Linked DNA regions of Homo sapiens: region 1 is linked to region 2. Evidence: promoter capture Hi-C in human tissues and cell types (Jung and others, 2019). All regions are on one chromosome and are shown on one strand. The core of a region is centred on a gene start or on the middle of the fragment in contact, and the rest is flanking DNA. Distances in the headings are between cores, read along the strand shown. Region 1 holds the start of ZNF653 (zinc finger protein 653). Region 2 holds the start of TMED1 (transmembrane p24 trafficking protein 1).

Region 1 (4,704 bases), core at 735-3,234, 670 kb after region 2:
GCACTTTGAGAGGCTGAGGCCGGAGAATCACTTGAGCCTAGGAGTTTGAAATCAGCCTGGGCAACACAGGGAAACCTCTGTCTCTACAAAAAATACAAAAATTAGCCAGGTGGAGTGACGTGCACCTGTGGTCCCAACTACTCAGGAGGCGGAGGTAAGAGGATCACTTGAACCCACGAGGTTGAGGCTGCAGTAAGCCGTGATCATGCCACTGCATTCCACTCTGGGCGAGAGAGTGAGACCCTGTCTCAAAAAGAAAAACGAGGGCCGGGCGCGGTGGCTCACGCCTGTAATCCCAGCACTTTGGGAGGCCGAGGCGGGTGGATCACGAGGTCAGGAGATCGAGGCCATCCTGGCTAACAGAGTAAAACCCTGTCTCTACTAAAAATACAAAAAATTAGCCGGGCGTGGTGGCGGGCGGCTGCAGTCCCAGCTACTTGGGAGGCTGAGGCAGGAGAATGGCGTGAACCCGGGAGGCGGAGCTTGCAGTGAACGGAGATCGTGCCACTGCACTCCAGCCTGGGCGACAGAGCAAGACTCTGTCTCAAAAAAAAAGAAAAGAAAAGAAAAACGAACAAAAAAACCCCCCAGACCTTTGAACAAGCCATCCCCTCTGCCCACCAGAATGTCCGCTCCATGAGGCAGGTATCTTTGCGCTCCCAGCATTTCCAGTCCTGCTCTTGAGCATATAAGCCAGCCTGCTGTCCTGGGAAAGGGGTGGGTATAACTTAGCAGGATCTGTTTGATTCTTGACTCTCAGAATCTCCCCCCAGAGAAACATGAGAACATGTGTACCTGAAAACCAGGGCAGAACAAGGATTTCCTTGCGGCACTGCTTGTGATACGGAATAAACGTCATCCTCGTAAAAGTTAATACTTAGGGAACCCACTACCTGCCAGGCACTCTTCTAAGCTCTTTGCCTATTTTAACTCAATCATCACATCAACATATAAGGCAGGAAGGGAAAAACTCCATCCACACTGCTCCTTCTCAAGACTGAGAATTTACAAAGACAGGCCTCTCTGCCCTCCACCTGCCAAGCTAACTAGGGGTTTCCTCTTCATCCGAGTCTCCCTGGGCTGAGTTGCTTCACAGAAATAGGTTTAGGGGAGTGCAGTCCAGGTTGTGAAGGGTCCCCCGGATGTGTTGGATCTAGGGTTGTGGGAATGGGGCCATACGGAGTCCCAGATGGGGCACCAGAACTTCAAGAAGGGCAGGGCTGAGTGCCCCAGGGTGTCCAGAGTCCCAGGCCAGGTGGGGAACTAAGCGGGGGAGGATGAGACCGGTGAGGGGGCGGGGCTGCCCCCCCAGGGCCTGGTTAGTTACAAGGCCTGGAGGTGGGGCCAGTCCCAGGATTGGGCCGCCAGAGTTCTAGCGGGCGGGGCCAAGCGCTCAGAAGGCGGGTCGAGGGGCTGGGTGCACCCTAGGATTGGGCAGTCGGAACGATGGGAGGCGGGGCCACGAGCCAGGCGCGTCCCGGCCAGGCAGTACGAGACCCAGGCCGCCGGCCCGGCTCCTGGGCGGGGTCCGCAGGTGCCGGGGGCTGGCCCTAGAAGCGGAGGGGGCGGGGTAAAGCCCGGCGGGGTCTGGGGGCGTCTCCTCCCTCCCTCCCTCGGGGCCAGGCCCCCTCACCCGTGGCGGCCGCTCCGCTGGCCGCGCTCCAGAGAGATGAGGTAGGCGGCGAGCTTGGCGTCGCTCCAGCCGCTGCGGCGCCGCAGGTCCACCCAGGGCCCGTGCGCCTCGCCCAGGTACACGCGCCGCACGTCGTACTTCTTCCGGGACTCGAGCCGTCGCCGGGCCCGGTCCGACTCCGTGAGTCGCGGCCGGCCCCGCGCCTTTCGGCCCGCTGCGCCCTCCTCGGCTGCTGCCTCCCCGCCCGCGCCCGCCTCAGCCTCCGCCTCCGCCTCGGGCTCTAGCGCCCGCTCCGCCATCCCCCCCACCCTGGTTACCAGCCTCCCCCGTTGTTAGGAGCCAGACCGGAAGTGGCGCGCATCTTCGGCGCCGCCGAGAAATTTCTCACGGTCTCTCGCTGCCCCAGGGCGCCAAAAGGAGACCAAGAATGGAAACTGCGCATGCGCACAACCAACAGCGCTCCCGCCCCTTTTTATTTGAATTCGGAGAACCAGAGGCGCCTGCAGATTCTGGAGGGGTCTCGCCTGCCCATCGCTGGCAGCCCGAGATCCTGGGGAGGGGATGCCATACTGCTAGAGATGAGGGAAGAGAGCCCCAAGCAGGAAAACATTGATTTGCTGTACACTCAAAGGGCATCTCATGCCTTCAGTCCACCGCCTCCTCGGGCCACAGCCCGTGCCCTCGCGCCGGCTCAGACTAGCTCTGGCCCTGCTGCTGTCGCTGCAGGTTGTCGTCTTCTTCCTGGTGGTCCTCGGGCAGGGGCGGCTCCTCCAGCCCTGCAGAGGATGTCTGGAGCTCCCGGGTGGACCCGGCGAGGCGGAAGACCACGGGGATCTGGGCCAGGGTTGGGTTGGTCTCCTGCAGGCCCTGGATCCACTTAGCCATCGTCGCCTGGTCATGAGCACCCGCCATGCACATGGCGAAGACAGGGCCTTCCTCCACTGTTGGAAGACATGCACCCTTAAGGTTTGCACAGTGGGGGCTGCAGCGGCTAACCCATGCCTACACCTTTTTGAGGTATTTTACACTCCCTTCCACTTCCTTTTTTTTTTTTTTTTTTTTTTTGAGACGGAGTCTCGCTGTGTCACCCAGGCTGGAGTGCAGTGGCGAGATCTCGGCTCACTGCAACATCCGCCTCCCAGGTTCAAGTGATTCTCCTGCCTCGGCCTCCCGAGGAGCTGGGATTACAGGTGCACAGCACCACGCCGGGCTAATTTTTAAATTTTTAGTAGAGATGGGGTTTCACCATGTTGGCCAGGCTGGTCTCGAATTCCTGACCTCAAATGATCTACCCGCCTCAGCCTCCCAGAGTGCTGGGATTACAGGCGTGAGCCACTGTGCCCGGCTTCCTTCCACTTTCTTGTGCCTCCAAACCTTTGCACAAGCTAGCCCCGCTGCCTAGGCTGCCCACTCCACACTTCACCCGGGCGATGACTCCTGGTTTTTCTGTATTCTGCCAGGAAGGCCTCCTGACCCCCCACTCAAGGCATGCTCCTCTCCTAAGCTCCCCAAAGTGTAATTTGCCTGTTCCCTTGCTGACTCGAGGGACTAGGTTTGTCCTGGTGACACCCAGTAGCCAGCACAGAGTTGTAGGAGGGAGGGAATGAACAAGGGCCAACAGGGCTGGGTGACCTCAGGTCTGGAGCCCCTGGGGCAAATGAGTGTGTGCGGCCGGAGGACGAGGGTGTAAGTGGACTGCGTCTCAGCCTGGGCCTACCCCTTGACCCCAGAGGCCGCCCCTCATCCTGGGTGGTGTTTGGAATGTTTGGAAGTCCTGCCTGTCCAGGTTTTTGCCTTTTTTTTTTTTTTTTTTGACACAGGGTCTATCATGTAGGCTGGAGTGCAGTGGCTCTATAATAGTTCACTGCAACCTCAACTCCTGGGCTCAAGTGATCCTCCCACCTCAGCCTGTAGGAGGGCTGGGATTACGAGCACACATGTGAGCCACCGCACCTGGCCCAGTTTTTACCTTCATTGATGTCAAACTCGTAGTTGTCCCAGCCACTCCTCACATACTCCAGGTCCAGCTGCATCGGGTAGTAGAGGTTCCACTCCTCCGGCGTCTCTTCCACTTCCTACTCCAAGGTGGGGAGTGCAGGCGGGGTCAGAGGCCAGGGCTCTCTCGGTCTCCCTCCTCCAGCCTCTCCCATGCACCCTCAGGGTAGTGCCAGCCCACTCCCCAGCCCCAACACATGCTTTGCTTTAAGCCCTCACCCTCTCCTCCGGGGGCAGCAAGTCAGCTCTGAGGATGTGGTAATACACACACTTGTTGCGGAGCCACAGGGAGAAGGGGCCCTCAACAAAGACAGGCCGGGCTGGATTGTGGCGGGCCAGGGCGGCCTGCTGATCGGGACTCTGGATTCCTGGTGTGGAGACATACATGCCCTGTGCCCTGCAAGGGACTCGGCCCAGAGGCCCAGGGAGCCCAGCCTAGGCCCAGCGAGAACCTGGCAGGGCCTGGGTAAGGTTAGAGACTTGGCTGCCCCCATGCTCTCGGACTTACCTACGATGTGGGGCTGGGGGGGATCTGCTGCACCTGTTGAGTCTTTGGGCAAAGGAACCTGCAAGGGAGAGTAGGGATATAATCTTGTAACCCCCAATCCCCTACAGAGGAACTGGGGACAGAGAAACAGAAAGGGGGATACCAGGGAATTCAGGACACCTCTCCTGGATCTGGTACACGGCCCTCCAACCTGTCCCCTCCTCCCTCTGTCCCATTTGGCAATAACCACCAATCTTTAGGATGCTCACCCTGAGGGAACTACCCTAGAACCAGCCCACCTTTGTCAAAATCCTGGCTCTGTCACAAGCTGTGTGACCTTGGCCAAGTCACTGTACCTGTGTGCCTCAGTTTCTCCAGATGCACAATAGGGATGATAACAGCACTTAATTCCGATTTTTTTTTTTTTTTTAGGGATGGGGGTCTCCCTCTCTGTCATCCATGCTGGAGAATGGTGGCATGATCATAGCTCACTGTAGCCTTGAACTCCTGGGCTCAAGTGATCTTCCTACCTCAGTCTCCCAAGTAGCTGGGTCTACAGGTGCACACCACTATGCCTGGCTAATTTTAT
Region 2 (4,298 bases), core at 1,624-4,123:
TTGTTCAGGCTAAGTTCAAATCCTCACCCTGCCACTCACTGGCTGTGACCATGAGCAACTTAATTAACCTATCTGAGCCTGTTTCCTCTTCTATAAGCTTCCAAATTGCTGTGAACATTTAATGCCTAAATAAATGTACAAGGATGAGCATGGTGGCTCATGCCTATAATCCTAGCACTTTGGAAGGCTGAGGTGGGAGGATCGCTTGAGCCCAGGAGTTTGAGACCAGCCTGGGCTACATGGCAAAACCCCATCTCTACAAAAAATTAGCCAGGGGTGGTGATGTGCAACTGCAATCCCAGCTACTCAGGAGGCTGAAGCAAGATTACACCTGTAATCCAAACACAGGAGGATCACTTAAACCCAGGAGTTCAAGACCACCCTAGCCAACATGGTGAAACCTCGTCTCTACAGAAAACAAAAAATTAGGCATGGTGGTGCACACCCGTAGTCCCACTGAGGTGGCAGGATTGCTTGAGCCCAGGAGTTTGAGGCTGCAATGGGCTATGATCACACCACTGCACTCCAGCCTGAGTGACACAGCAAGACCTTGCCTCGCCGTAGCTCACACCTGTAATCCCAGAGCTTTGGGAAGCCAAGGCAGACAGATCCCCTGAGGTCAGGAGTTCGAGACCAGCCTGGCCAACATGGTGAAACCCTGTCTCTACTAAAAATACAAAAATTAGTCAGTCAGGCGTGGTGGCACAGCTATTCAGGAGGCTGAGGCAGGAGAATTGGCTGAACCTGGGAGGCAGAGGTTGCAGTGAGCTGAGATCGTGCCACTGCAATCCAGCCTGGGTGACCAAGAGAGATCTGTTAGAAAATAAATAAATAAGTAGTTAATTAAAATACTAATAAATGTACAGAACATATTTGCTTGTGGTTAAGAGCATAGTTGCTGAAACCAGCATGGGTTCAATACCAACTCTGCTAGTTGGTCTGTGTGGCCGTGAGTTGCTCAGCCATCTTGTATCTCACTTTCTCCACCTGTAAAATGGGGATGACTTGAGCACAGGGTCTGCTTCACAAGGTGGTTTGGAGATTTACGGTATGAGTTATTTATGATATGAGTTCCTTAAACCTTTACACCAGGGTTTATACCTAGAAATGAACTACTTTTTTTTTTTTTTTTTTTTTTGAGACGGAGTTTTGCTCTTATTGCCCAGGCTGGAGTGCAATGGTGCGATCTCGGCTCACTGCAACCTCTGCCTCCCAGGTTCAACTTCCACCTCCTGGGTTCAAGTCATTCTCTGGCCTCAGCCTCCTGAGTAGCTGGGATTACAGACGCCCGCCACCACACCCGGCTAATTTTTGTATTTTTAGTAGAGACGGGGTTTCACCATGTTGGCCAGGCTGGTCTCAAAACTCCTGACCTCAGGTGATCCACCCGCCTCAGCCTCCCAAAGTGCTGGGATTACAGGCGTGAGCCACCGTGCCCGGCCTGAAATGAACTACTTATTTTAAGAGCTGCTACTCTTACTATAATTCAGTTGGAGGGCACAACTACGGAGGGGAGGCTGGGTCAGCCCAAGGGGGGCACCCCAGGTGAATCCTAGAGATCTGGAAGGAGTGGCCCCAGCGCAGCCTGGACACACCTTGATGTCCTCCATTTTAACATCCAGCATCTCCTCGGGCTCCACAGCCTCTGCCCATCCTTCGACCTCCTCGTCATCCTGGAGGCTGTCAAAGATCAGTTCAAAGAACACCAGCTTCTCGGAGATGGTGCTGAAGGAGTTGTCAAAGCACAGCTTGTAGTCCCCGGCCTCCGTTGGCTCCACCCTGGGCAGACAGACACACAGACATGACCCAGGGTGGCCAGCCAGCCGACTCAGCGGGGCAGTCAGGGCGGTAACCTGAGGCCGCCTGGGAAGGGCAGGGCTGTAACTGAACCCAGGCAGGCATCAAGACTGAACTCACGTGTGTACCCCATCAGCCTTGCGGGACTCGCTGACCAACAGCACGCCCTGAGGGCTCTCCAGCGTGAAGTCCACGTCCAGTCCAGCACCTCCGATCACCTGGGGGGCAGGTAAGAGCGGGTGGAGGGCTAGCGGTAGGCCAAGGGCGCCTGCCGAAGAGGGCTACGGCTGAACCAACACTGATCAATACAGACCACCAAGGGCTTACCTGAACGGCGGCACACCCACACCCGCCCCAACCTGTCCCAGTGGCTGCGCCCCTTGCCTCCACCCTCATTGATATGACAGCTTGGGGTCCATACTTTCAGCTGACCACGCACCTACCAAAAGTACTTAATGGACGTTTACCTGACCACGCCCCTGGTTGGCTCCGCCTCCGAAAGAGGATAGGCCCAGCCTTTTTCCTTAGTCTAACCCCCGAGAAAGGCCTGTGTGGGCAACGCCCCCGCAGTTGACCTATCAGCACTATCGCCACGCCCACCAGCCAGAGTCCTGTCCTCTCAGAGGCTCCCTATACTTATCGATGGCCCCGCCCCCTCTGGATCTCTTACTCTAGCCCCGCCTGCTTCATTACTCCCTCCCCTTCCGCTCCCACACACCGTCCCCGCCCCATCTGTCCATCTCTTTCTAGCTCCGCCCCCGCGCTCCCAAGCACGGATTCCTCCCCCTTCCTCCTAAAGCGCGCCTCGCCTCGACCGCTTGGCCACGCCCCCTCTCCCTGACTCTGCTGGCCGCCCAGCCCGCGACCCTCTACCTGGTATTCGGTCTCGAGGCTTGCGTTGGCCGGCGCGGACTGGTAGAAACACTGCTTCCTCCCCGCCGGCAACAGGAACGTGAACTCACCGTCCTGGATTGGCGGGGGCCCCGCCCCTCCCACCTCCACTGGTGGCATTAGTAGCCACAAGGCCAGGGCTAGGGCCGCGCCGGCCGCCATCATCCGGGTCACCCTCTGGTCTGCAAAGGGGTCGCGGCTCCTTTAAGCGCTAGCCCTGCCCCGGTGCTACTCGGCGGAGCTCATTGGCAGTGGCTTCTGTATGTTGTCCGTAACCAGAGGTGCCAGGAGTGAAGGACCCCCCCACTAGAGGGCAGGCGGCCCGAATGAATGCCTGATGTGCCCAGAAACACTCAACCGTCTGGGAATATTTTTCTCAAAGGCTTCGGCTCTCTTCTCGGCCGCTGGTGGAGGAAAATTACAAAAATAAGTGCCATGATGGCGCATCTTTTGTAGGCAGTAGCTAAGACAACTAAAGTTACAGGCGGCAGGGTCCTTTTTAGTCACCTCCACGTGGTTTTCCCAGAGTGCGCCGCGCGTGACAACCTTTGGCGGGACCGACGTGGTGGAGTGGACCCAAAAATAGCGTCTAGGCGTGGCCCTGTACGCGACCCGTAGGGCTCGCCTATAAAAGGGCTGGGGCGGGGCGGAGATACCTGTGGCGTCGTGTTTTGCTTGCTCTGTGAGCGTGGTCCAGGTTCGACGCCTTTTGCGCCTTAGAGGCATCAGCGTATCAGTTTCCTCGTAAGTCGGGAGTGATGGAACGACCACCCTGTAGTGCGGCTGTGAGAATTGAGATGAGGCTTGGTTCATATTGAGTGCTCAGCTTTCCTGGCTTATAGACAGTGGAGGGGCGTGGCCCCACCATGCACCCCAAGGGTCTCAGACTCAAGGGCCAGCAGGTAAATAGAGCCATTACAGTAGCCTCGGGTCAGAAAAACGACAGCCCAGGTAGGAAGAGATAAGGACAGTGTGGGACTGGGAGCCACGTTGCCTGGTTCAGCTCCTGCCCCACCCATTACTTGAGGCATTCCCTCTGTTGAGCCTCAGTTTCCTCTTCTGCAAAATGGGGATAATAGGCCTACGCTACTGGGCTGTCTTTAGGATACGTGAAATGCTTGTTGAGTGCTTGCTTCCGCAGTGCGTGGGACATCACAGGCCCTCAGTAAATAATAATCTGTTATTTGGTTCCCGTCTAAACATAAACTGTGTACAGGGAGATGTTTAGTCTTCAAAGATAAACCCGGAAAAGGTTGGCAGGTGATGACAAAGATCCCTCAAATACAGCTGGCTGTTGTCAGCACTTTCCTGCATTTGGAGAATTTGGGGAAGTAGCTCTTTGTAATATCAGTTTGGTATTCCTTTTCACTCCAACTTTTTCTATCATTTACACTCACTGCTTGGACAATTTGAAGTAACAGTGGAGAACGGGTGACTCCTTTTCTTTTTTTTCTTTTTTTTTTTAATTTTTTTTTCCTTTTTTTTTTTTTTTTTTTTTGAGACAGAGTCTCCCTCTGTTGCCCAGGCTAGAGTGCAGTGGCGCGATCTCGACTCACTGCAACCTCCGTCTCCTGGGGTTCCAGCGATCCTCCTGCCTCAGCCTTCCGAGT

The links. The method cuts DNA at HindIII sites, captures the fragments that hold promoters and counts their contacts. A contact is called where the count stands out against the background at its distance.
Region 1: a contact is called between the fragment with the promoter of ZNF653 here and the fragment with the promoter of TMED1 in region 2, in 1 of the 25 tissues and cell types used here (spleen).

What each region holds. Positions count from the first base shown.
Region 1 is chr19:11,503,855-11,508,558 of GRCh38, forward strand. It overlaps ZNF653 (zinc finger protein 653), which reads right to left and starts at 1,985. Exons shown (of 9, transcript NM_138783.4): 1 at 1,634-1,985. The coding sequence starts at 1,932. ECSIT (ECSIT signaling integrator) reads right to left here. Exons shown (of 8, transcript NM_016581.5): 5 at 4,137-4,194; 6 at 3,848-3,996; 7 at 3,603-3,708; 8 at 2,075-2,574. The coding sequence ends at 2,330. RefSeq lists enhancers at 1,081-1,150, 3,603-4,380 and silencers at 1,301-1,970, 2,131-2,180. The HindIII fragment of the contact is 10,042 bases long and covers 1-4,704 here.
Region 2 is chr19:10,833,339-10,837,636 of GRCh38, forward strand. It overlaps TMED1 (transmembrane p24 trafficking protein 1), which reads right to left and starts at 2,874. Exons shown (of 4, transcript NM_006858.4): 1 at 2,671-2,874; 2 at 1,918-2,015; 3 at 1,596-1,779. The coding sequence starts at 2,853. It also overlaps a transcript of C19orf38 not described here. RefSeq lists enhancers at 1,372-2,009, 2,647-3,283, 3,049-3,148. The HindIII fragment of the contact is 15,983 bases long and covers 1-4,298 here.